Linked DNA regions of Homo sapiens: all the other regions are linked to region 6. Evidence: promoter capture Hi-C in 16 types of primary human blood cells and fetal thymus (Javierre and others, 2016). All regions are on one chromosome and are shown on one strand. Each heading gives the region's core, a stretch centred on a gene start or on the middle of the fragment in contact. The rest is flanking DNA. Distances are from core to core; before and after follow the strand shown.

Region 1 (4,191 bases), core at 1,187-3,686, 1.2 Mb before region 6:
TTTCTACTTTCAAGGAACAAGAGTTCATTTTCTGGATACTAAAAAACAATGGATCAGTGATTGATGTGGTCCAAGGCATTTCTTAGAGTTCTGTAAGAGGAAGTATATAAAATACCCCAACAAGTCCAATTATATTCTTAAATATTATTATAATATTATAAAGGAACACATTTCCACATATTGAAATGCAGCTGCTGTTTCTCCATCTCTAGTACATAAACATACAAAATACAAGAAGTTAATAATGTAAGAAATATGTGGTAGAGTGGAATGTGCAAGATTTTTTTTACAGACAAGGTCTTACTATGCTGCCCAGCCTGGTCTCAAATTTCTGGGCTCAAGCAATCATCCCAAGTAGCTGACCACAGGCATGCACCACCACGTCTGGCTAAAAAGTGAAAGATTTTGAAATCAGATGTCCCTAGGTTTAAATTCCAGCTTTGCCACTTTTACCAGCTATTTCTTCACAGACAAGTTACTTTACCTAAGAGGCATTTCCCCCACCAAGACAAACTTTCTCTCTCTCTCTCTCTCTCTCTCTCTCACTCTTGCTCTCTTCCATTTCTCTTCTCTTACCTAGCACCATACTCAACATATAAGGCACTTAATAATTGGTAGCTATTTTTCTTGTGTCCAATATATAAAAAGATATAAGCCAATGATGAGTAGTATCACAAAAATCATGAAAGAAAAGAGAAAGACCGCCTTTTTTTTTTTTTTTAACTAAAATAAAGCCTTCTACAGATGAAAGATTTTGGCTCCCCATTCAACAGTGTGTTCCAACATAAGTGTTGGCAAACCTGTGGCAAAGGAGCCTACATCAAGACAGAGGGATAAAGGCAGTGCTGTGCTCACAGTGAAAGTCTAATAGATACCTGCTGCACTGAGTTGGCTGTACATAATAAGAGCTAACATTTCTAGAGGGTTTATTTTGTGCCAGGAACCGTTTTAAGTACTTTGGATGTTTTAATTCATTTAACCCTCATAATAATTTCCTTAGGTAGGCACTATTTTTTTGTTGTTTTTTAAGACAGGGTCTTGCTCTGTCACCCAGGCTGGAGTGCAGTGGCACAATCACGGCTCCCTGCAGCTTTGACCTCCTGGGCTCAAGCGATTTTCCCACCTCAGCCTCCCAAGTAGCTGGGACTCCAGGTGTGTGCCACTATGTCTGGCTATTTTTTTAAATTTTTTATAGAGACAGGGTCTCGCTATGTTGCCCAGGGTGGTCTTAAACTCCTGGGCTCAAGTGACCCTCCCACCTTAGCCTCCCAAAGTACTGGGAGCCATTGTGCCCAGACCAGTAGGTACTATTTTGATCCTCATTTTACAGATGAGGAAACTAAGGCACAGAGAGGTTGAGTAACTTACCTAGGATTGCACAGCTAGTAAGTGGAGAGCCAGGCTCCTCCTGGGCAGACTGCAGATCCATGCTCTTAACCCAGTTACTCCTCTGCCTCTCTGGGGAGTGTAATATGGAAGAGTGACAGACCTATACCAACAGTTATTAGGGAGACAGAGTATTTATTCATCCTTTTCTCCTTTATTTATTCAACTCCTCAAAAAGAAAACCAGCCTGAGGGCTGGGTGCGGTGGCTCACGCCTGTAATCCCAGCACTTTGGAAGGCCGAGGCAGGTGGATCACTTGAGGTCAGTAGTTGGGAGACGAGCCTGGCCAACATGGTGAAACCCCATTTCTACTAAAAATACAAAAATTAGCCAGGCATGGTGGCACATGCCCGTAATCCCAGCTACTTGGGAGGTTGAGGCAGGAGAATTGCTTGAATCTGGGAGGCGGAGATTGCAGTGAGCTGAGACCATGCCATCACACTCCAGCCTGGGTGGCAGAGCGAGACTGTCTCAAGAAAAAGAGAGAGAGAGAGAGAGAGAGAGACTGTCTCAAGAAAAAGAGAGAGAGAGAAAGAAAAGAAAGAAAGAAAAGGAAAGAAAAGGTAAGAAAGAAAGAAAAGGAAAGAAAGAAAGAAGAAAGAAAGAAAGAAAGAAGAAAGAAAGAAAGAAAGAGGAAGGGAGAAAGGGAGGGAGGGAGGACGGAGAGAGAAAGAGAAAATGAAAACATAGTGCTCACCCTTCATTATTTTATCCAATAAAGTGTTAAAGAGACTTAGCCAAATGAATAACAAGAACAACAGATTCCAATGAGCTGTCATTATTTTTTTTTTTTGTCTGAGGCAGAGTCTGTCACCCAGGCTGGAGTGCAGTGGCACCGTCTCGGCTAACTGCAACCTCCACCTCCCAGGTTCAAGTAATTCTCTGCCTCAGCCTCCCAACTAGCTGGGATTACTGACACCCACCACCACGCCCGGCTAATTTTTTGTATTTTTAGTAGAGACAGTGTTTCACCATCTTGGCAGGCTGGTCTTGAACTCCTGACCTCATGATCCACCCACCTCAGCCTCCCAAAGTGCTGGGATTACAGGCGTGAGCCACCACGCCTGGCCAAGCTGTCATTTTTTACCACAATAATTTACACGTGTTAATTCTCTAGAAATTAAGAATAAATTTCAAGCAACTTTGGATTTTCTTTTATTTTTTGTAGAGACAGGGTTTCGCTGTGTTGCCCAGGCTGGTCCCAAACTCCTGGCTTCAAGCAATCCTCCTGCCTCAGCCTCCCAAAGTGCTGGAATTACAGGTGTTAGCCATTGGGCCAGACCTGGATTTCCATTTTATAATAATTTTTTATTGAGATCAATAGAAAGTCCTATGTTTTTGTGAGGGCTTAAGAAAAATGACTGTTAAAATCTTTTGGCTATACTTCTCTTAACAACTAGTAACCAAGAGAGACTAAGAGAAAGTATTTACTGATCATATATCTGACAAAAGACATGTGCCTAGAATATACAAATAACTCCTACAACTCAATAATATGAAGACTAATTACTCAATTTAAAAAGACACAAATTATTTTAATAAATAACCAAAAAGATACATGGATGGCAAGTAAGCATATGAAAAGATGCTCAACATCATTAGTAGTCATTAGGAAAATGTAAATCAAAAACACAGTAAGATACTACATACCGGCCAGGCGTGGTGGCTCACGCCTGTAATCCCAGCACTTTGGGAGGCCGAGGCAGGCGGATCACGAGGTCAGGAGATCGAGACCATCCTGGCTAACATGGTGAAACCCCATCTCTAATAAAAATACAAAAAATTAGCCAGGCGTGGTGGCGGGAGCCTGTAGTCTCAGCTACTCGAGAGGCTGAGGCAGGAGAATGGCATGAACCCAGGAGGCGGAGCTTGCAGTGAGCCGAGATTGCGCCATTGCACTCCAGCCTGGGCGACAGAATGAGACTCTGTCTCAAACAAAAAAAGGAAAAAAAAAGTAAAGAGAAAGGTAAACATCTACCTTCCATACAACCCAGCCATTCTACTCCTAGGTATTTACTCAAGAGCAAGGAAAGCATATATCCATACAAAGACACAAAATGCTCATAGCTTTATTTGTAACAGCCAAAAACCAGATCCAACCCAAATGTCCATCAAGAGATGAAAGAAGGAAGTCCTGGCCAGAGCAATCAAGCAAAAGAAAGAAAGAAATTACATCCAAATAGGAAGAGAAGAAGTCAAACTATCTGTCTTTGGTGACAATATGATTCTATACATAGAAAACCCTAAAGACTCCACCAAAGGACTCCTGGAACTGATAAATGACTTCAGTAAAGTTTCAGGATACAAAATCAATGTACAAAAATCTGTGGCATTTCTTTACATGAATAATGTTCAAGCTGAGAACCAAATCAAGAATGCGATCCTATTTACAGTAGCCACAGAAAAAATTAACATACCTAGGAATTCATCTCACCAAGGAGGTGAAAGATCTCTACAAGGAGAACTATAAAACACTGCTGAAAAAAATCATATATGACACAAATGGAAAAACATTCCATGCTCATGGATTGGAAGAATCAATATTGTTACAATGTCCATACTGCCCACAGCAATCTACAGATTCAATGCTATTCCTATCAAACTACCAACATCATTTTTCACAGAGTTAGAATAAACTATTTGCAATTTCATATGGAACCAAAAAGAGCCCAAATAGCAAAGCAAGCCTAAGCAAAGAGAACAAAGCCAGTGACATTACCTGACTTCAAATCGTACTATAAGGCTACAGTAACCAAAACAGCATGGTACTGGTACAAAAACAGCCACATAGACCAATGGAACAGA
Region 2 (4,356 bases), core at 595-3,094, 1.2 Mb before region 6:
CACACTTCAGGGTAATCTTTTATTTTATTTATTTATTTTATTTATTTATTTATTTTTTTTTTTTGAGACGGAGTCTTGCTCTGTCACCCAGGCTGGAGTGCAGTGGCACAATCTCAGCTCACTGCAAGCTCTGCCTCCCGGGTTCACGCCATTCTCCTGCCTCAGCCTCCCGAGCTGCTGGGACTACAGGCGCCCACCACCATGCCCGGCTAACTTTTTGTATTTTTAGTAGAAGCGGGGTTTCACCATGTTAGCCAGGATGGTCTCGATCTCCTGACCTCGTGATCCGCCCACCTCAGCCTCCCAGAGTGCTGGGATTACAGGCGTGAGCCACCGCGCCCGGCCTAATGTTTTATTTTTACTTATTTATTTTTTGAGACAGGGTCTGGCTCTGTCGTCCAGGCTGGAGTGCAGTGGCGCAATCTTGGCTCACTACAACCTCCACCTCCCGAGTTCAAGCAATTATTCTGCCTCAGCCTCCCAAGTGGCTGGGACTTCAGGTGCATGCCACCATGCCCGGCTAGTGTTTGCATTTTTTGTGGAGATGGGTTTTTACCATGTTGCCCAGGCTAGTCTCGAACTCCTGAGATCAAGAGATCTACCCACCTCGGCCTCCCAACGTGCTGAGATTACAGGCGTGAGCCATCACGCCCAGCCCAGGGTTATCTTTTAAAAGGCAAATCTGATATTATTACTTCTTGGTTTAATAATTATAATGCTCCTTTCCTTTTAGGATCAGGTCTACACTTCTCAAGCTCTACTACTAAACCATCAGCCATTCCTCCAATCATGTCCTACAACCTCATGCCTCTCTGTGCTTGCACAGACTCCCTGCTACTATGAATTTTCAAAATTCATTAGAGAGATCATTTATTTTCTCCTCAGTCTGAATTGTATGCTAAGCCAGTGGGCACTCCCTCAACAGCCCACACTTACATCTGTAATAGCACCTAGCATCCAACATTAAGATTCTCACTATAATTGACTGTGAGCTTATTCAGAGTGGGGGCTGCATCTTTTCCTCTTTTTCCTTTGGGTTTAGCACAGGACCTGGTACGTAGTAGGTGTTAATATTTGTTGAATGAATGCTGTATCATTTTACACATCTATGCGTTGCACATATGTCTATACTGTTTCTCTTCACTGGATACATCCAATCTCCATGCACAGTATTATTATTATAATTATTATTGAGACAGGATCCTGCTCTGTCACACAGGCTGGAGTGCAGTGGCACAATCATAGCTCACTACAGCCTCCAACTCCCAGGCCCAAACAATCCTCCCACCTCAGCCTAGCAAGTAGCTAGGATTACAGCTGTGCACCACCATACTCGGCAAATTTTTCAATTTTTTGTAGAGAGGGGATCTTGCTATGTTCCCCAGGCTGGTCTCAAACTCCTGGCCTCAAGGGATCCTCCTGCCTCAGCTTCCCAAAGCACTGGGATTACAGGCATCAGCAATGGCACCTGGCCCCATGCACAGTATTTATGCCTCCACTGAAACCTGGCTGAAGCATTTTTTTTTCTGTGAAGCCTTCCTGGACTTGGTTCCCAAGACAGTGATGATCATGCCCACCTTTTAGCCACCATTATATCTTATATATACTTCTAATCATAGTATCTACTATTTCGTGCTGCAAAAATCTCTCCTCATGTCTGTCTCCTTTACTAGATTGTAAACAGCTAGTTGCAGCAACCTATTTTATTTATCTTCATATTCTGAGCACTTATGATATAGTAGGCAACTAGTAGTTAAGCCTTCATTTTTCCATTTAGTAATTAAGCCTTCAGTGCTTCTTTTACACTATAAACAGATTGTTCTAAAACAAAATTCAGATCATGTTTTTCTTTCTTTCTTTTTTTTTTTTTTTTTTTTGAGACAGAGTCTTGCTTTGTTGCCCAGGCTGGAGTACAGTGGCACCATCTCAGCTCACTGCAACCTCTGCCTCTCTGGTTCAATCGATTCTTGTGCCTCAGCCTCCCGAGTACCTGGGACTACAGGCGCATGCCACCACGCCCAGCTAATTTTTGTATTTTTAGTAGAGATGGAGTTTTGCCATGTTGGCTAGGCTGGTCTTGAACTCCTGGCCTCAAGCAATCCACCTGCCTCGGCCTCTCAAAGTGCTGGGTTACAGGTGTGAGCCACTATGCCTGGCTCAGATGATGTTTGTCTCATGCATTCAAATCTTCAGTGATTTCCCTTTACCTAGAGTGGTCTTTCCCAAAGTACAGCATCTGGACCCCTGCTGGCACACATGATAATTTTTACATGATACATAATAGTTCTTTTTATTTTTATTTTTTATTTTTTGAGATGGAATTTCACTCTTGTAGCCCAGGCTGGAGTGCAGTGGCACAATCTTGGCTCACTGCAACCTCCACCTCCTGGGTTCAAGCGATTCTCATACCTAAGCCTCCCGAGTAGCTGGGACTACAGGCGCCCACCACCACACCTGGCTAACTTTTGTATTTTTAGTAGAGATGGGGGTTCACCATGTTGGTTAGGCTGGTCTCGAACTCCTGACCTCAGGTGATCATGCCTTGGCCTCCCAAAGTGCTAGAATTGCAGGAGTGAGCCACCAGCCATTTCTTTTTATTTTACTGGCGTTAGAAAAATTGAAACCTACCAAATGAATGATTTTATGGTTGCTTTTTCTTATGGCAGTTAAGATTTGTTTTAAGTTAGTGATTTAAAATAAATTTAAAGAAAAATACTGAGTAAATATTAGTACATAGAGTACTCATATAACAAATGTCAAAAATTCATCATATTTGTGAAACCCTAATGTATAGGATTAAAAGCACATACATCTTCTAAATCCAGTGTACAGATCCTTCACATCATCAGCCCTGATTGACTTTTCGACTTCACCCCCTCTAGCTGCCATCAATTGTGCTGTAACTCATGTCACTAATCAACAGGTTCTTCCATGTGACTTCTCCTAACTCCTTTCAGTCTATTCGTTACACAGCACCCCAAGGGAGGCTGGCACCCCAAGGGAGGCTGTTAAAAAGTAAGTCAAGGCTGGGCGTGGTGGCTCACACCTTAATCTCAGCATTTTGGGAGGCCAAGGCAGGCGGATCACCTGAGGTCAGGAGTTCGAGACCATCCTCGCCAACATGGTGAAACCTCGTCTCTACTAAAATACAAAAATTAGCTGGATGTGGTGGCACACACCTGTAATCCTAGCTACTCAGGAAGCTGAAGCAGGAGAATCACTTGAACCCAGGAGGCAGAGGTTGCAGTGAGCCGAGACTGCACCACTGTACTCCAGCCTGGGTGAACAGAATGAGACTCTGTCTCAAAAAAAAAAAAAAAAAAAAAAAAAAGGTAAGTCAAATCAGGTAATTACCCCCGCTCAAAACTAAAAACTGTCCAGTCGCCATTTTTTCTGTTTTTTTGTTTTTTTTTTTAATTTCTAGGAGATGCATGGTTAACTATCAGGGGTGACATGCCACTAGATCTGCAATTTAACTTAAAATGGTTCAGAGAAGGCTGGATGCGGTGGTTCACGCCTGTAATCCCAGCACTTTGGGAGGCTAAGGAGGAAGGATCACTTGCGCCCAGGAGTTTCAAACTAGCCTGGGCAATCTAGTGAGACCCTGTCTCTACAAAAATTTTTAAAAATTAGCCAGGCACAGTGTCGTGCACCTGCAGTCCCAGCTACTAGGGAGGCTGAGTCAGAAGGATCCCTTGAGCACAAGAGTTCAAAGCTGCAATGAGCTGTTATTGAGCCACCGTACTCAGCCTGGGAGACAGAGCAAGACCCTGTCTCCAAAAAAAAAAAAAAAAAAGATATATAGGCTAGGTGTGATGGCTCACACCTGTAATCCCAGCACTTTGGGAGGCCAAGGCAAGTGGATCATTTGAGGTCAGGAGTTTGAGACCAGCCTGGCCAATGTGGTGAAACCCTGTCTTTACTAAAAATATAAAAATTAGCTACTCAGGAGGCTGAGACATGAGAATCGCTTGAACCCAGGAGGTGGAGTTTGCAGTGTGATGAGATCATGCCACTGCACTCCAGCCTGGGCGACAGAGCAAGACTCTGTCTCAAAAAAAAGGAAGAATGAGAAAGCACCTTATGTCATGACATGACACAAACTTCAACATATAAAGTGGCCGGGCACAGTGGCTCACACCTGTAATCCCAGCAACTAGGGAGACTGAGGTGGGAGGATCACTTGAGGCCAGAAGTTGGAGATCAGCCTGAACAACACAGCAAGACCCCATCTCTAAAAAAGTAAATAAATAAGTTTGAGGCTGCAATGAGCTATGATTGTACCACTTCACTCTCAGCCTGGGTGACAAAGCAGAATCCCATCTCTAAAAATAAAAATAGAAAATAAAAATAAAT
Region 3 (4,573 bases), core at 1,467-3,966, 1.5 Mb before region 6:
GACCACACCACTGCTCTCCAGCCTGGGCAACAGAGCTAGACTCCATTAAAAAAAAAAATACAAAATACAAAAATTACCCAAGCATGGTGGCACACACCTGTAATCCCAGCTACTAGGGAGGCTGAGGTAGGAGAATTGCTTGAACCTGGGAGGTGGAGGTTGCAGTGAGCCAAGATCACGCCACTGCACTCCAGCCTGGGCAACACAGAGAAACTCTACTAAAAAGAGAGAGAGAGAAAAAAAAGAATTAGAAAGAAAAAGAAAGAAATCAATATAGAAAGTATAGGGGAGACAATAATCTGATTGGCATCACATTTTTAATTAACAACAAATATTAACTGGAAAACAATGGAGCAATATCTTCAAATCTGTGCAAGGCCATGGCAACAGATTTAAATATCAAAGGGAAATTGAAGAAAGTCTAACAAAATTAAAACTTAAGTAATTGACCAAAGAAGAAGAAAACCTAAACAGATCAATAACATGAACGATTGGAAAGGTCAAGATCTACCATTTTAAAAATCACCACACTTGCATAGATTTACATCCAAGTTTACCAAGCCTTAAAAAAAAGATAATTCTTCCTATATTATTAAAGTATCTTAGACTACAGAAAAAAATGAAACTCCCCAAGTTGACTATGACTTCGAAGAAGTTAGCAAAGCACTTTGCACAAAGCTCTTAGAACCATTCTGCCTTGTTCAAGTCATGGCTATAATACTTACTGGCTGTGTGACCTTGGGCAAGTTATTTATTCTCTTCCTTTCTCCACTCCCTTCTCTGTTAAATGACGAGGAAACTCTACTTCATGGAGATTGTTGTGAAGATTAAGTGAGTTTATAACTATCAACTGCTTAGAACAGTGTCTGGTGCCTATTAAGGCCCACATGCATACATATTTGATATTACTACTTTTATGAAATTAGAATCACCTTATTAGTTAAGCCTGATGAAGAAAGCACAAAAACAGAAAGCCACAGACAAATTCATTTATGAATACAGATACACATTTGTAAATAAATATTAGAAAATTAAGCTCATCAGTTCATCAAAAGAATAATACACTTATATTAGGAGCACAAGAATGGCTTAACATCATAGCTGGGCATCATGGTGGGCACCTGTAATTCCAGCTACTTGGGAGGCTGATGCAGGAGAATCTATCACTGTGATCCATTATATCTACCACTTAAAGTAGAAATTTCAGATGCTGTATGGTTGTAAGATAAACCTATAAAAATGAAGAGCTTTTCTATCAGTAATTATCACATAGTACTTTTTATTTTATTTATTTATTTTTTTGATACAGGATCTCGCTCTGTTGCCCAGGCTGTAGTGCAGTGGTGCAGTCACAGCTCACTGCATCCTCCATATCCTGGGCTCAAGCGATCCTCCCACCTCAGCCTCCTAAGTAGCTGGGACTTTGATACAGGATCTCGCTCTGTTGCCCAGGCTGTAGTGCAGTGGTGCAGTCACAGCTCACTGCATCCTCCATATCCTGGGCTCAAGCGATCCTCCCACCTCAGCCTCCTAAGTAGCTGGGACTACAGGCGTGCCACCGCATCCAGCTAATTTTTGCATTTTTCTTCGTAGAGACAAGGTTTCTCCATATTGCCCAGGCTGGTCTCAAACTCCTGGCTCCAGTAATCCTCCAGCGTCAGCCTCCCAAAGTGCTGGTATTATAGGAGTGAGCCACTGCGCCCAGCCCCACATAGTACTTTTAATAATTAAATAAACTTAGCAAAGTCAGTGTGGGCAATATGAGAAGGTCATGGAATGCTAGTCCAAGAAATCTGGTATTTATGAAATATATAGCAGGAAAAATTCAAGATGCCAAATAACATAAATAGGTCTATGTCTTTGGAGATGGATAGCAGTGAGGATTCTGAAGACAGAGAGACCCTTAGGAAATTATTGCAATAGTCCAGTCAAATGGTAGAGGAAAATTGAGCTGAGACAGAGGTCTTTCCAGAGGAATAATCGCTGGTACTGCTTTGGAGAAATAAACAGAATTTGTTAACTAAAGTCCAGACTGGGTAGACTGTTTTTACTACTAGGCTAAGGAACACGGGTGAAGAGAGTATTTCGGGAAAGATGACATTGAGTTGAGTCAAGCTGATTTTGAAGCACTCCCAGAACACCCACTGGTTAGAAAGGCAGATCAGAAGCTTCAAATAAAAGCAGGGACTAAAAAATTAACAGAGAGATTATTTAAGAAGCAACGATTCTGGAGCTACGAGAGGACATGAGGTCACCCAGGGAGAATGTGTAGCCTGCAAGGAAGGCTGAGACAGAACCTCAGAACATGCTGACATTTAAGGGATGGAATGAAAACAGCCGGTCAGTAAGAAGTTCTAGTGGTTGTTGGAGAGCCAAGAGCATGCAGAGCCCCATAAACTAGTGAAGAGATCCAAAAAGGATCACAAACCCAGCAGTTTGGAATGCCAAAGCAGGATCAAGGCGGAGGAGGAGCATTCAGCAAAGCAGCCTGCAGGTCCTTAGGAGAAACAAGTTCAGTGAAATGGGCATCTTGCAGCCCATTAAGCAGAGATAGAAAGTAGGTGGACTAAAGAATCCAAACGGCTTTTCAGTAAAAGTGGGTAAGAGCTTCAATTTGGGGATCAGGTTAACATGGATTCACATCTCAGCTCTACTGTTGGACATTTGTCAATCATTCCATATCTCTGAGCCTAACTTTCCTTATATGTAAAATAGGATAGTCCCAGTACTATCTTCGTAGGAGTTATTGTGACAATGGAGATAATCCATTAAAGGGGCTTAGATTGGCATCTAACATAGTTAAGAGGTCAGTAAACTTGGGGGTATTTGCGGGGCACAGTGGCTCATGCCTGTAATCCCAGCACTTTGGGAGGCCAAGGCTGGTGGATCACTTAAGGTCGGGAGTTCAAGACCAGCCTGGGCAACATGGTGAAACCCCATCTCTACTAAAAATACAAAAATTAGCCAGGCATGGTGGCGCAAATCTGTAATCCCAGCTACTCAGGAGGCTGAGCCAGGAGAATCGTTTGAACCCAGGAGGCAGAGGTTGCAGTGAGCCAAGATCGTGCCACTGCACTTCAGCCTGGGAGACAGAGTAAGAGTCCGTCTCATAAAAACAAAATGAAACAAAACAAAACTTGGGGGTATTATTGTTATTTCAATAAAATAGATGATGATCCCATCTGCTGAGAAAGGGATGAAAGCAGGTGGAAAGGGAGGAACAGCTGCTTACGTGTGTTTAAATAGACTACTTCCCAAAGCTTTTTTTTTTTTTAAATAAAAAATGACCAGACAGCTGAGATGAACTTGAAATAGACCTGGCCATCCAACCCAGCCAGACCACTCTTCCCAGAATCACTCACTGACTGAGCACTGGAGTGGTGGGAGCGGAAGAAATAAATTGTTGGGAGAATTGTTGGCTTGAAGAATGGCAAGGGTTAAAATGATCTGGTGTGGGAAAAGGACAGGATTTGAGCACAATAGGGAGAGCTCACTTAGACTTGGAGGCCGGGGCAGAGTTGTAGGAGTCATACCAGGGAAAGATCAAGCTAATTTATAGGAAGGAAAAAATCTAGAAATGAGGAACTTGAGTCGGAGGGGGTGATTCAGAGAACTGAGCATATAACCAGTCATGCTTCTTCCATTTTTTCGTATGGTCACTCTCTTACCTAGATACCTATGATACATTCAATAATCATTACTTTGGCCAGACACGGTGGCTCACACCTGTAATCCCAACTCTTAGGGAGCCCAAGGCAGGAGGATTCCTTGAGCCCAGGAGTTCAAGATCAGCCTGGGCAACATGGTGAGACCCTCTCTTTACAAAAATTTTAAAAATTACCCAAGCATGGTGGCATTCACGTGTGGTCCCAGCTACTCAGGAGGCCACTTAAGTCCAGAAGGTCCAGGCTGCAGTGAGTCATGTTCATGGCACTGCACCCCAGCCTGGGTGACAGAGAGAGAACCTATCTCAAAAAAAAAAAATCATCATCATCATTTCTTAAAACAACATTAATCATAGGTCACCTTTTTAGAGGCAAGCAGGCATTCTGTTAAACACAGTCCCCATATCAATTCTATGGGTCAAGAAGCCCTTGATGCCCATTACAGGTAAGTAAACTTTCACAGAGTGACAGGACTAAGATTTGAACCTGGGCAATCTGAATCCCAAGGCTGAGTAACCACAGCACATAACTATAAGCAGGGCATTTCGGTACGCAGCTTCTTGGATGACCTCAATACTCCCTGCCTCCTGGTAGCCCCACTCTTGTGTAATTCCCTCCCCGCTTGTGTGTGGGCTTTATTTAGTGGCCGACTTCTAGCAAGCAGAATGCAGAAGAGGAGAGATGTCACTTCTGGAATTAGATTACAAAGAGATGGCATCTTCCGTCTGGAGCACTCTCTCACTCTCACTCCAAGGGAAGCCAGCTGCCATGTTGTGAGCTGTCCAAGGATCCCAGTGACAAAGAACTGAGGAAGTCCTCTGGCCAGCAGTCAGCAAGAAACCGAGACCCTAGACCCTTAGCTCCAACAGCCTACAAATAACTGAAACCTTCCAAAAACCATGGGAGGG
Region 4 (4,330 bases), core at 27-2,526, 1.4 Mb before region 6:
TTGTATTCAGGAATAAATGAGAAGTGGTGTTATTTATAATTGGCTCCCTCTAATTCAGACTAAATATAGATTAATCCTAATTGATAAGACATAAAATTTAATTAAACCTTAATAAAGAACCTGGGAAAGAGTTCTCAATAGATGATATCAATGGTAATGTTGGATGCTGCATGCTGCAGTACTTCAGATAAAACACAATTCGTAGAAGTATTTTCAGGGCTTTGTGCAAGTCAAGATATGGGTCATTATCTCAAACAGAGCATTCATTAAAATTATGGATAAATCTGAGAGATGGTGTTCTCCATACAGCTCACCGATAAGAGCCTGGCCCACAAGAACTCCCAACAATCTCCTCAGCCTGTTGGTCAGGAGGACGCTCAGTTCCTTGACCTTGAAGCCACACTGAGTCACAGAAGTTGCTGTCACAGACTACGGTGTTATCAGATAAACCCCAACCCACCGAATATCCCATTGTAGAAATCCAATTAACAATGCTACATAAACATTACCCTTCTGATTGATGTTCCCAGCACGTAACATTTTTATTTCATGTACTCATGGTATGTTTATGTGTTCAGGAGTGATTGAGAACTTATCTTTCATGGTCAATCAACCTGGTGTCTAATTACTGCAAACATGAATAGAGAGCCCAGGCAGAGGGGAAGATCCAGCTCCCAGGAACGGAACTCCTTCCTTGCAAATGGGAGCATAGACACTCCAGTTCCTAGCAAAGTGTATCAAAGGAAGCAAACCCTGATACCTCCAGGTGTCAGAATTCTAAGAGGAAAGTGAGCTCAGTTGGCACCACAGCAAACTGGAGAGGGTCTGCCTGATCTAAAGAGGGCAACTTTTCTCTACTCTGCCCACAGTTGCCATGAAGGAATGAGGGTCCAATGATGGCAAATCATTTCACTCTTCTTTAAAATTTGTGTATTTGGATTGTAATCGGAAACAAAACCACGTTTTTAAATGGGAAGAAAAGACTTTTTTCAACAAAGTTTTTTTAAAAAACTTATTCCAACAAAGTTTTTTTAAAAAACTTATTCCTTCCCTTTGGTTATTCCTTCCCTTTGGTTCATTTTCCCCTTTAACAAATACTTAATGAATGCTTAATATGTCCCAGGCATTGTTGTAGGCACTGGAGATAGAACAATGAAGAAAACAAAGATCCCTGTCTTTAGGAAGCCTATATTCTAGAAGAGGGAGATTGACCATAAGCAATAAACATGATAAGTAAAGCATATGGTATGTTAAATGGGAGAGGTGCTAAGAAAAGACAGAAAAAGCACAGTGGGCAGGGAACTGGAAATCATGCAGGGGTTGCCTACTGATATTTAGACACAGTGGTCATACAGAAGGTGACGTTGGAAAACAGATTTGTAGAAGAAGAGGAAATTAGCCAGGCAAATATCTAGGAAAAGAGCATTGGAAGAAGGAATGGCCAGTGCAAAGTCCCCAAAGTAGAAATGTACCCAGTGTGTTCAAGAAACAGTAAATAAACTAGGTGGCTGAAATGAACTGAATGAGGGAGAGACTGGCAGGAGGTGAGAAGAGAGAGGCATCAGGGAGGGAGCAGAGCACGTGGGGCTTCCTAGGTCATTGGAATGACTTTGGTTTTTACTCTGGGGTAGTTGCAGAACCATTGGAGTGTTTTGAGTGCAGAAGAGACACAGACAGACTTGTATTTTTACCGGGATCCCTCTGGCTACTATGTTGAAAGAAGCCTGTAGGGATCAAGGATGGAGAGGCAGGGAGACCAGCTAGGAGGCTGTAGCAGCATCTAGGAGAGAGACAACAGTGGCTCAGACAAGAGTGAGGCGTTAAGAAGGCAATGGAGGTGTTAAGAAGTAGCTAGATTCTGGAATATCCAGAATCTATAAGGGACTTAAACAAATTAACAAGCAAAAAACAAACAACTCCGTTAAAAAATAGCCAAAGGTCATGGACAGACACTTCTCAAAAGAAGACATGTATGTGGACAACAAGCATATGAAAATAATGCTTAATATCACTGATCAGAGAAATGCAAATCAGAACCACGATGAGATACCATCTCACACCTGTCAGAACGGCTACTATTAAAAAGTCAAAAACAACAGATGCTGGTGAGGTTGCAGAGAAAAGGTAATGTGTATACAATGCTGGTGTGAATGTAAATTAGTTCAACCACTGTGGAAAGTAGTTTGGAGATTTCTCAAAGAACTTGAAACAGAGCTACAATTAGACCCAGCAATCCCATTACTGGGTATATACCCAAAAGAATATAAATCATTGTACCATAAAGACACAGTGCATGCAGCCAGGTGTGGTGGCTCATGCCTGTAATCCTGACACTTTGGGAGACCAAGGCAGGTGGATTGCTTGAGCCTAGGAGTTTGAGACCAGCCTGGGCAAGATGGCAAAACCCTGTATCTACAAAAAAAAAAAAAAAAAAAAAGCACAAAAATTGGCCAGGCATGGTAGCACACCCCTGTAGTCCCAGCTACTCAGAAGACTGAGGTGGGGGGATCACCTGAGCCCAGGAGGTCAAGGCTGCAGTGAACCCTGATTGCACCACTGCACTCCAGCCTGGGCAACAGAGTGAGACCCTGTCTCAAAAAATATATAAAGATATATGCATGCATATGTTCATCACAGCACTATTCACAATAGCAAAGACATTGAATCAACCAAAATGCCTATCAATGGGGGACTGGATAAAGAAAATATGGTACATACACACCATGGAATAATATGCAGCCATACTAAAGAATGAAATCATGTCATTTGCAGCAATATGGATGGAACTGGAGGCCATTATCCTAAGCGAATTAATGCAGGAACAGAAAACCAAATACTGCCTGTTCTTACTTATAAGTGGAAGCTAAACACTGAATACACATGGACACAAAGAAACGAACAACAGACCCTGGGGCCTACTTGAGGATAGAGGGTGGGAGGAGGGTGAGGATCAAAAAACTACCTGTTGGGTACTATGCCCATTACCTGGGTGACAAAAGAATCTGTACACCAAACCCCAGTGACACGCAATTTACTCATGTAACATATCAGCACACATACCTTCTGAACCTAAAATAGAAGTTGAAAAGGAAAAAAAATCACTGATCAATATAGAAATGTTATTTGTAATGCATTTGATAACATGTATTTTACATTGTCTTCTGAATTTTGCCAAAAAAAAAAAAAATGAAGTAGCTTGACTCTACCTAGATTATAAGGTAGAATCAACAAGAATATCCAATGGACAGGTTGTGGAAAGTGAGAAAAATGGAAGATTTAACGACAACTCTAAGCTTTTTAGGTTGAACAATTGAAAGAACAAGAAGTCTCTATAAATATGAACCAGATCCCACATTTCTGACACAATTTAGGACAGTCAGGATATCCCAATTTATCACTTGCTGTTCAATAATAACGATGGTAATAACAATTACTATCTTTTTATTGAGCATTTACTATATGGCAAGGCATTTTATATGTATATTGCATTTAATCCTACACCCACTCCATGAGCTAGACAGATTTTTAGCCCTGTTTTTCCCCATGAGGACACTGAGGCTCAGAAAAGTTAAATAACTTGTCAAGTTCACTTACTAGTGGCAGGGCCCATAATGAAGCCCAGGACTCTATGGCTGCAAGGCCCATGACCATAATGGCATGGCATACTGTCTCTTCAATTCCATAATTTTCTAACTACTTATCATGAGTCGGGCATAGGCTGAGGCATTTTAAATATGCAATTTCATTTAATCTTTACAATAATCCTATGAAGCAGGTATTCTCATTCCCATTTTCAAATGGAAGCTAATTGAAATATCCAAGCCCTACTTCCCTTGTTCCAAAACCACGGTTCTCCAGGAAAATATGATAGAGCATGCTATGGGCTGAATGTTTGTGTCACCCCAAAATTCATACGTTGAAACCCTAATGCCCTATGTGATTGTATTTGGAGATGAGCTTCTGGGAGGTAATTAGGTCATGAGGGTGGAGCCCTCTTGATGGGATTAGTACCTATATATTTATTTATTTGTTTATTTATTTATTTATTTTGAGACAGAGTTTCACTCTTGCTGCTCAGGCTAGAGTGCAATGGCACGATCTCGGCTCACTGCAACCTCTGCCTCCCAGATTCAAGCGATTCTCCTGCCTCAGCCTCCTGAGTGGCTGGGATTACAGAAGTGTGCCACCACGCCTGGCTAATTTTGTATTTTTAGTAGAGATAGGGTTTCTCCATGTTGATCAGGCTGGTCTTGAACTCCCAACCTCAGGTGATCCACCCACCTCAGCCTCCGAAAGTTCTGGGATTACAGGCATGAGCCACCATGCCTGG
Region 5 (4,227 bases), core at 1,489-3,988, 1.1 Mb before region 6:
GAAACTACCATGATTTCAAATAGTGATGAATGTAGGCAGTAAATCAAGATTTCTGCAACTATAGTGCAATATGAAAATACCTGTGATTTCTGTTGATGATGAAGTCACAGATAAACCTAATACTACTAGTGGTTTATTGCCTCTGTCAAAAGAAAAAATTACGACAAACATAGTATAAAGATCTTAATTAGCTTTTATTTGAGATTCTAAAGTTGGGCAACACCTCATTCTTAGAGAATGAGGGTTTCAATGAGCTGAGCAGAGGAAGTTGGTTTTATAGACAGGGGCTGAGGAAAGCAGAAACAGAAAACAAAAAATGGGTGGTTTCAAAGTTAATTTATTTGTAAAGGTTAAAGCAGAGGGAAGTCCCTTATGCTGGCTAAAACTGGCATGTTTGGGGGCTTGGCTATTATCTCTTCTAATTTCTCAGAAGTCAGATGAACAACTTTGCTTTGGCTTGCTGACATGGAACTTTAGCACAAGTGACTCCATTTTGGTTTGGTTTGTTGGGCCTAGGGCAGGGACTCAGTCCAAACCAGTGGTCTCCTATAAATTTTAACAGATCTATTAGTACTTGAAAGAAATGTCAAATTTCATTTAGAAGTTAACAAAAATGAAGATGTAGCTGTTCAGACCCTTTAAATTCATCCATGTTCACAGACCCTCTAAAGTCTATCCATGGACCCCAGGCTAAGAACTGCTGGCTTAGGTGGAGCAGCCAGGAGAACTGCATCCCCCCGGATAGGGGATCGTAAAGGCATTAGAGGAGGGAGGCACTTGCCTTGCAGTGGGGCAACTCCAAAAAAGGCAAAGATATCTCCCCTAAGTGTGAAATTTTAAAAAAATCAATAGCTAACAAATGAAGCTGGAAAAACCACTTGAGACAATTGGGAAAATATTAATGCTGAAACGTAATAGATGTTAAGGAATTATTGAGTTTTTTTCCCTTAGGAATTGTGGTTAAAATAAAACGTCCTAGAAATGTATGAAGATGTATACTTGAGATGCCTTGGATTAGCTTTAAAATGATTGGAGGACGAGGAAAGTAGGAGAGTAGAGATGAAATAAGATTGGCTGTATGTTGATAATTGTTGAAACTGGTTGATGGGTACGTGGGAGTTCATTAAACCATTTCTCTGCATGTATATATGTTTGAGATTATCCACAATAGAAAGTTTTATTTATTTATTTATTTTTAGACATAGTCTCACTCTGTCGCCCAGGCTGGAGTGCAATGGTGTGATCTTATCTCACTGCAACCTTTGCCTCCTGGGTTCAAGTGATTCTCATGCCTCAGCCTCCCAAGTAGCTGGGACTACAGGCGTGTGCCACCATGCCTAACTAATTTTTTTTTTTTTTTTTTAAGTAGAGATGGAGTTTCACCATGTTGGCCAGGCTGGTCTCGAACTCCTGTCCTCAAGTGATCCACCCGCCTTGGCCTCCCAAAGTGCTGGGATTACAGGCATGAGCCACCACACCTGGTCCACAATAGAAAGTTTTAAAATGCAGTGGATAAGATTAGCCATCTGTAGAAATTCAGTATTTGTTTGGACTGAGAAGTTAGGAAGGATCACTCAAGCAAGGTTAAGGTAACTAGTTTGTAATTTCAGGGAATTAATGATTGTTAAGAACATACCAAAGTGAAGCGTTATGATGATGAATGCTGCTGTGGTACAGTTAAAATATAACCTAATCTTAGTGGATAACTGCATCTAAGCTGAGCCCTATGCAGGGAGACGGTGAGCATTAAGCTGAAGAGTCATCATTGATCCAGTGAATGCCTGTGTCTCCTAGACCCAAGAGAAAAGGACATTGGTCAGGGCAGGGGACGTCCAGGATTTTCCATGTCCAAGATCAACATTTCTCTAAGTGTGATCTCTGGACTGCCTGTACTAATATCACCTGGGTTTGTTGCTAAAAATGCAGAATCCTGGCTCTACTCCAGTCTCAGCCGTTTGAGGGGAAGGGACCCAGGTTCTTACACTTTAATAAATCTTCTTCCAGGTGAATCTTAGCACATGTAAAGTTTGAAAACTGTAGCTTTAAATAAAGATGACAGTAGCTTCTCCTTATTGAGCAATTTACCATCTGCCAGATCTCATGCTGAGCTCTCTACATATATTAACGTTTTTGTAAATTATATATTTGTATATGTCAGGGAGGAAAAATATTTTTTTCCTCAACCTTCATGAGTGCTTAGTTGGAAAGGACCCCTGCAACAAAAGACAGATTAACAAGAGAAAAACAAGCTTACTAACATATCTATTTCATTTATATGTGTGGGAGATACCCAGGGGATGAGTCATTCTCAGAGGTGGCTTTGAATTCCAGCTTATGTAGTATCTTCAACAAAGAATGGTAATTTTTTAGAGAAGTGACAAGACAAAGGGGAAGAACTTTGTCTAGGGGCAGAACTTGTGGGAAGGCAAGTAAGTGGTGATAAAGGCCCGTTAGCAAAGCTTGTTAGTGTGGATTCCTCTGGTGCTGTCTTCTGGCCCATAAAGGTCTAAAGTTGTTAGTGGTTAACCTTTGTTCTCCCTGGTAGAGAGGGAGGAGGCAGGAACCTTTTTATGCCAAAGACGCATGCTTTGGGGTGACATAGTCCAGTCTCTCCCACACACATATTTATCTTTACAGCCTTATGAAGTAGTTGATGAGGAGAACTCACATTAGAAAAATGTGCTTGCTGTAGGTTACCCAGTTCTAAACAGCAAAGCAAGACCTCAAACCAGGTTCTGACTCCAAAGCCTGTGCTCTTAGCTACTATACCACTGCCTCCCATCAGACTCCTCTGATCCCATGTCTACCAGAGACTCTCATTCATGAATCGGCCTTTCACATGCCCTTTGTGGGGCAGCTGTGTCCTAATAGAGGATGTGAATATTCTTGTCACTGGGCAGGAACAGTTCCTGTTGTATATTAATAAATTAATGTCTGGCTTATGCATTAGCCTTTTTAAAGGTAGTTCTGAGTCCTAAAGAATACTTGATAATTTATACTTGATATAAAGAAGCTTGAAACATTTCTGCAGCTATTATATATATATTCTTGTGATTCTAAGCCTTTTTTCCGCTCCTGTGGAATCTCATCAATTCCTAAGAGATTGAACATGTTCCCATCAATGACAAGAACCTACTATGGAATTACTAGCCCGAGGGCAGGATTAAGGGCCTACTCCTTTAGTTCTGAGAAAGCTTCACGCATGAGAATTAGTGGTTGATTTCCAAAGGACCAGAAGAAGCTGGTGGGAGTTGAGGCAGTGAAGACTACACACAGGCTTTTATAGACCGTGCCATGTGCTCACCTTTCTCATTTAATTCTGCCAGTTCTACATGGTAGGTACTAACAGATCCACTTACTAATTCCGAACTCAAAAAGCTCTATAAAGCAAGATTTTTTTTTTCCCCTTAAATTTGCAACAGATTCATTTGGTAGTAGATCTTTACCTGAACTGATGTGAGGCTGTTTATAGTCTTAGTTCATACTTTTTGATGCAGAAATATTAATGCTTGATTACAGGGTGCTGCCCAGACCTCACAGGTATTATAAGGTGTCAGCTGTGTGTCAGGTATGAGCGCCATGTTGTCTTTCTAAAATTTAAAGAATTTTCCAAAACACTTTTGACTTCAAGAGTTTCAGATGAGAAAGTTGAAGTTAGGTTAAGTGTTTGTTCAACTCTTTGCTGCTGAGTTATGTAAATGGATTTGAAAAAAAAAAAGCCATATATGCTTTTTTCAACACTTTAAGGGCCCGTTGAGTGTCATTTAGCCCATTGTTTGTTAGCCTTGCAAATCCTTCTAGAGTTGTAGAAAAAGCCTCAAGAAGAGTGTGTTGTGTTGTGTTTGAGACAGTCTCTGTCACCCAGGCTGTAGTGCAGTGGCACGATCTCGGTTCACTGCAACGTTCACCTCCCACGTTCAAAAGATTCTCATGCCTCAGCCTCCTGAGTACGTGGGATTACAGGCGCGTGCCACCACGCCGGACTAATTTTTGTATTTTTATTAGAGGTGGGTTTTTGTCATGTTGGCCAGGCTGGTCTTGAACTCCTGGCCTGCCTTAAGCAATCTGCCTGTTTTGGCCTCCCAAAGTGTTGGGATTACAGGTGTGAGCCACCATGCCTGGCCAAGAAGAGTGTTTTTAAAGTCAAGTTCTGAGTCTTTTACAGTTTGATCATCAGTAAGCTTCAAACCATTTCTCCCCTCTTTCTGGTTCTGTCCAGGGAAATAC
Region 6 (4,264 bases), core at 1,202-3,701:
GATTGGAAGCTTCCTGAAGGCTCCCCAAAAGCAGAAGCTACTATACTTCCTGTACAGCCCGTAGAACTATGAGCCAGTGAAACCTCTTTTCTTTATAAATTACCTAGGCCCAGGCATTTCCTTATAGCAATGCAAGAATAGGCTAATACTTTGATTTTAAAGTAACTGACATCTTGCAGTTTGTGGAATGAGGTAGACTTTCAGTAGATGGAGAAAGCTGGGGAACCCTAGGCTGAGTAGGAGAAGAGATGAGATGACTGGAGAAGGCTGGCTGATGGGGATCGATGTGTCTGAGAAAAGAAAGTCTTATTCAGACAAGAGAGATGGGGAAGATCTGCTTCACTCACTTTCTCATTCAATCTTCAACTCAGGAACTCTCCCAATCCTGGGTTCTTCTGACACTTCCTAAATGTCCCCTATTTTAATAAAGGGTGTCAACATCCAAAACCTGGGACCTTAACCCTCCTTTTCCTTTATCTGCCCACATCCAGTCAATCATTATTGATTCTACATCCAAACTGCCACTCAAATCCAACCATATCTTCCCATTCCCAATGTCACTACCCTAGTCCAACTCATCTCGACCACTAAAACAGTCCCCAAACATTCTCTCCGACTGTTATCCATCTACCTGAGTGAGTTTTGTAAACATAAATCTACTCTGGCAGCTTCCCTACCCAAGACATGGCTTCCTGGGCCCTTAGGATAAAGTCCTTACCAGAGTTGACAAGGCTCTTTGTGATCTGGTCTTATCTCTTATACTTGTCCTGACCCCACTCCTACTTGAACCACATCCAGCCATACTCAGCTTCTCTAGTTCTCAGAACTAGAGCAGTTTTCCATCTTAGGGAAAACACTCTTTCGTCTAGCCAACTTGTTCTCATTTTCCTAATCCCAGCTTAAATGCTTTCCCCTTAGGGAAGCCTTCCCTCACCCCTGAGATTGAGGTAGATGCCTATTTAGTGCCCTCTATTTCCCTTTTTGTAACAAATATCATAGATGAGCCAGGCACAGTGGCTCACAGCTGTAATCCCAGCACTTTGGGAGACCGAGGCTGTCAGATCGCTTGAGCTCATAAGTTGAAGACCATCCTGGGCAACATGGCAAAACCCCATCACTACAAAAAGTACAAAAATTGCTGGGCATGGTGGTGCACACCTCTTGTCCCAGCTACTCGGGAGGCTCAGATGGGAGGACCACTTGAGCCTGGGGCTCAAGGCTGCAGTCAGCTATGATCTTGACACTGCACTCCAGCCTGAGTGACAGAGTGAGACCCTGTCTCAGAGCAAACATGCACACACACACACACACAAATATCATAGATGTCTTGTCTTCCCCTCTCAAATCTGCTCACTATGACAGGGACTGTGGCTGTCTTGTTGATCACAGTGTGCCCAGTGGCTAGCAAAATATCTCTTATCTTAAGAGATAAGTGGCTGGCACATAACAAATACTGAATAAATGGGTATTCAATTGGATTCACTTGGCTCCTTTATTTACCTTGTCCTTTTCTCTTTCTTTACCCCTCTTGGGTTACGGTTGCCAACACAACCTAGCCCTCTGATAACAGGCAGAACAAGCAGAGGAACTAGCTTACTCCTCCATTAAAATCTGGGCAAAGAGATGGGGTGTGTGTGTGTGTGTGTGTGTGTGTGTGTGTGTGTGTATCTATCCACTAGCCAAAGAAGTGATAGAGTTAAGATAGGCTAAAGAGTCCTTGTAGAGCCAGCAACTCCATTCAAAAGAGCAAGACCCTGTGTCAAAAATAAAAAATAAAAAAATCATGAGCTTGCACTGGGATTGAAAGTTAATAAAAGACTGTGAGATTTTGATGGCATAGATAAAAAAAAAACTAAAACCATGTCATTTGTTCCAACCAAGGTTGGCAACTTAAAACCAAGTAAAACAATGGCCTCTTTGAAAAGAGAAAACTATTTAAATTTCATGAAAAGCATTTTTAAAGGCATAGAATTAAAATATCTTCCCTCTTCCCCATGCAGATAATGCCGTAGTTCAGGGTCTCTCCTCTGATTGTGGCTAAGGGATGAGCCACTCCTATAGTGCCAGTCCTCAGTGAGAAAAGAGAGCATCTCTAGGCATAGTTTTCTCTCTTTCTCTAAAAATCCAATCATTTAGACAATCTAGAAAGAGGATAAAGTATTTGTATTGACGTCCCTGCCTCTTGCTGCTGTCTGCAAAAACCTACCATGAACACTGTTTCCAACAGAAACCATCGGGTTGAACTTACCCTCTACTGCAGATTATCTCTAGGGCTTCCAAGTTCCCATGGTAGGCTGCCAAGAGAGTAGGAGTCATGCCGTCTTCATCCGAAAGATTTAGATCTCGCTTGGTAGCCTCTTTTAGAAGTTCCAGGTAACTATCACTAGCAGCTTGGTGGTAACGAGTAGACATTTTTCCTGCTCACCAGAACTTGGCCAGATGTCTCTCCAGGCAGAGCAAGGTGTTGGCGGAGCAACCTTCCTATAGAGCTGGTTAATTAGTGACAAGGAAGAGTGTCACCAGGGGCAAAGCTCATTTCAACTGCTTCCTTTCACGGAAGGCAACAAGGTTCGAGGCACTGAACTTGGACCTTTTCTCTCTGGAATGGCCATGACGTTGACTATTGAAGACTGCTGTATTCATCTTGAGTGTTTGGAGGTACATTCAATTTTTCTATGTCCATTAGTTTCTTGAGTGTAATATTGGCCATCTAGGCACAGGATGTAAGAAATAATTTCTTAATAAAATGCAGAGCTACTCTAGTTCACTAGCTGTTTTTTCCAAAAAGAACAGCTTTATTGAGGTATAACATCATTAAATTTACCCATTTCATGCATACAATTCAATGATTTTTAGGACATTTATAGAGTTGCATGCCCATTATCATAATCCAGTTTCCATCAGCCCTTAAAGATCCCTCATGCCATTTGCTGTCAATCCCATTTCCACTCCCAACCTCAGGAAACCACAGTCTGCTTTCTGTCTCTATAGATTTGTTTTTTACGGGCATTTCAGACAAATGGAATCCTACAATATATAGTCTTTAGTGTATAGCTTGTTTCAATTCACATACTTTTTTGAGGTTTGTCATGTGTAGCATGTAATGGTTTCTTTCTTTTCACTGCTGAATAATATTCCACTGTGCTAACATACCACATGTTCTTCATCCATTCAATGTTTCATGAATATGATGAATATTTGGGTTGTTTCCATTTTTCAGTAATGATGAATAATGCTGCTATGAGCACTGATGTACAAGTCTCTGTGTGGACACATATTTTCATGTGTCTTGCGTATATATCAAGGAGTGAAACTGCTGGGTTGCATGGCAATTTACATTTAAATTTCAGAAGTTGCCAGACTGTTTTCCAAAGTGGCTGTACTACTTCACATTTCCACCAATAACGTATGAGGGTTTCAATTTCTCCACAACCTTGCCAGCCTTATTATTGCCTATCTTTTTGTTTATGGTCATCCTAGTGGATATGAAGTGGTCTTATTATGGCTTTAATTTTCAATTTCCTAATGACTAAGATATTGAGCATCTTTTCATGTGCCCATTAGCCATTCTTACATCTTCTATTCAAATCTTTTTGCCCAATTTTTAAGTGGTTGTCTTATTAATAAATTATAAGAATTATTTATATACTCTGGATACAAGTCCTATATCAGACATATTTGGAACAGAATGAAAATGAAAATACCACATATCAAGATTTATAGGATGCAGTTAAAGAAAAGCTTAGGGCAAAATTTGTAGTTTTTTATGCATATATGAGAAAGAAAAAAGATCTCAAATCAATAACTTAAACATATTATCAATAACTCAAGGGAAGGAGAAAAAGTATAGAAAAATGACTATAAGGAGTACAATATAAGACCAAAAAATTTCCAGATCTGTAATAAAAACAAAAGAAAATGGACTAAATTTATGATGTGGAAGACTCAGCCATGTCTTGTTTATAATAGACATATCTAAAATATAAAATTGCAGAAAGATTGAAAGCAAAAAATGGAAAAGTTATAGCAAGCAAATACTAACAAAACATTGGTGTACCCACATAGATGGTCTGCAACTTATGAGAGTTTGACCTAATTTTTCAACTTTATGATGGCACAAAAATGACAGGTATTTAGTATGCTTCTCAGCTCACAACTGAGTTATTATATCAACTTATGGTGGTTTTGCATTGTAAGTTGAAGAGCACCCGTATTGGTAGCAAGGAAAAATATAGCTTAAGCCAAAAAAATTTACTAGGCATAA

Evidence for each region. The method cuts DNA at HindIII sites, captures the fragments that hold promoters and counts their contacts. A CHiCAGO score of 5 or more calls a contact.
Region 1: a contact is called between a fragment that was not itself captured here and the fragment with the promoter of ANKS4B in region 6, in 1 of 17 cell types (erythroblasts). The highest score is 5.9, in erythroblasts.
Region 2: a fragment that was not itself captured here is called in contact with the fragment with the promoter of ANKS4B in region 6 in 1 of 17 cell types (total B cells); the score reaches 5.2 in total B cells.
Region 3: a contact is called between a fragment that was not itself captured here and the fragment with the promoter of ANKS4B in region 6, in 7 of 17 cell types (total CD4 T cells, naive B cells, total CD8 T cells and 4 more). The highest score is 14.2, in total CD4 T cells.
Region 4: a fragment that was not itself captured here is called in contact with the fragment with the promoter of ANKS4B in region 6 in 4 of 17 cell types (fetal thymus, monocytes, endothelial precursors and 1 more); the score reaches 10.7 in fetal thymus.
Region 5: a fragment that was not itself captured here is called in contact with the fragment with the promoter of ANKS4B in region 6 in 1 of 17 cell types (erythroblasts); the score reaches 5.8 in erythroblasts.

Annotation. Positions count from the first base shown.
Region 1 is chr16:22,393,894-22,398,084 of GRCh38, reverse strand. It overlaps the pseudogene SLC68A2P. Among named protein-coding and RNA genes, the nearest start is that of CDR2-DT, 21 kb to the right of the region's middle. The HindIII fragment of the contact is 7,194 bases long and covers 1-4,191 here.
Region 2 is chr16:22,412,608-22,416,963 of GRCh38, reverse strand. No RefSeq gene overlaps it. Among named protein-coding and RNA genes, the nearest start is that of CDR2-DT, 40 kb to the right of the region's middle. The HindIII fragment of the contact is 7,565 bases long and covers 1-4,356 here.
Region 3 is chr16:22,692,824-22,697,396 of GRCh38, reverse strand. No RefSeq gene overlaps it. Among named protein-coding and RNA genes, the nearest start is that of LINC02890, 82 kb to the right of the region's middle. The HindIII fragment of the contact is 1,092 bases long and covers 2,171-3,262 here.
Region 4 is chr16:22,643,364-22,647,693 of GRCh38, reverse strand. No RefSeq gene overlaps it. Among named protein-coding and RNA genes, the nearest start is that of LINC02890, 32 kb to the right of the region's middle. The HindIII fragment of the contact is 4,039 bases long and covers 1-3,295 here.
Region 5 is chr16:22,351,863-22,356,089 of GRCh38, reverse strand. All of the region lies in intron 2 of CDR2 (cerebellar degeneration related protein 2), which reads left to right. Among named protein-coding and RNA genes, the nearest start is that of CDR2, 21 kb to the left of the region's middle. The HindIII fragment of the contact is 554 bases long and covers 2,462-3,015 here.
Region 6 is chr16:21,231,886-21,236,149 of GRCh38, reverse strand. ANKS4B (ankyrin repeat and sterile alpha motif domain containing 4B) reads right to left here and starts at 2,451. Exons shown (of 2, transcript NM_145865.3): 1 at 2,249-2,451. The coding sequence starts at 2,412. It overlaps LOC105371123 (a long non-coding RNA gene), which reads left to right and starts at 2,548. Exons shown (of 2, transcript XR_001752344.2): 1 at 2,548-2,658. The HindIII fragment of the contact is 3,732 bases long and covers 12-3,743 here.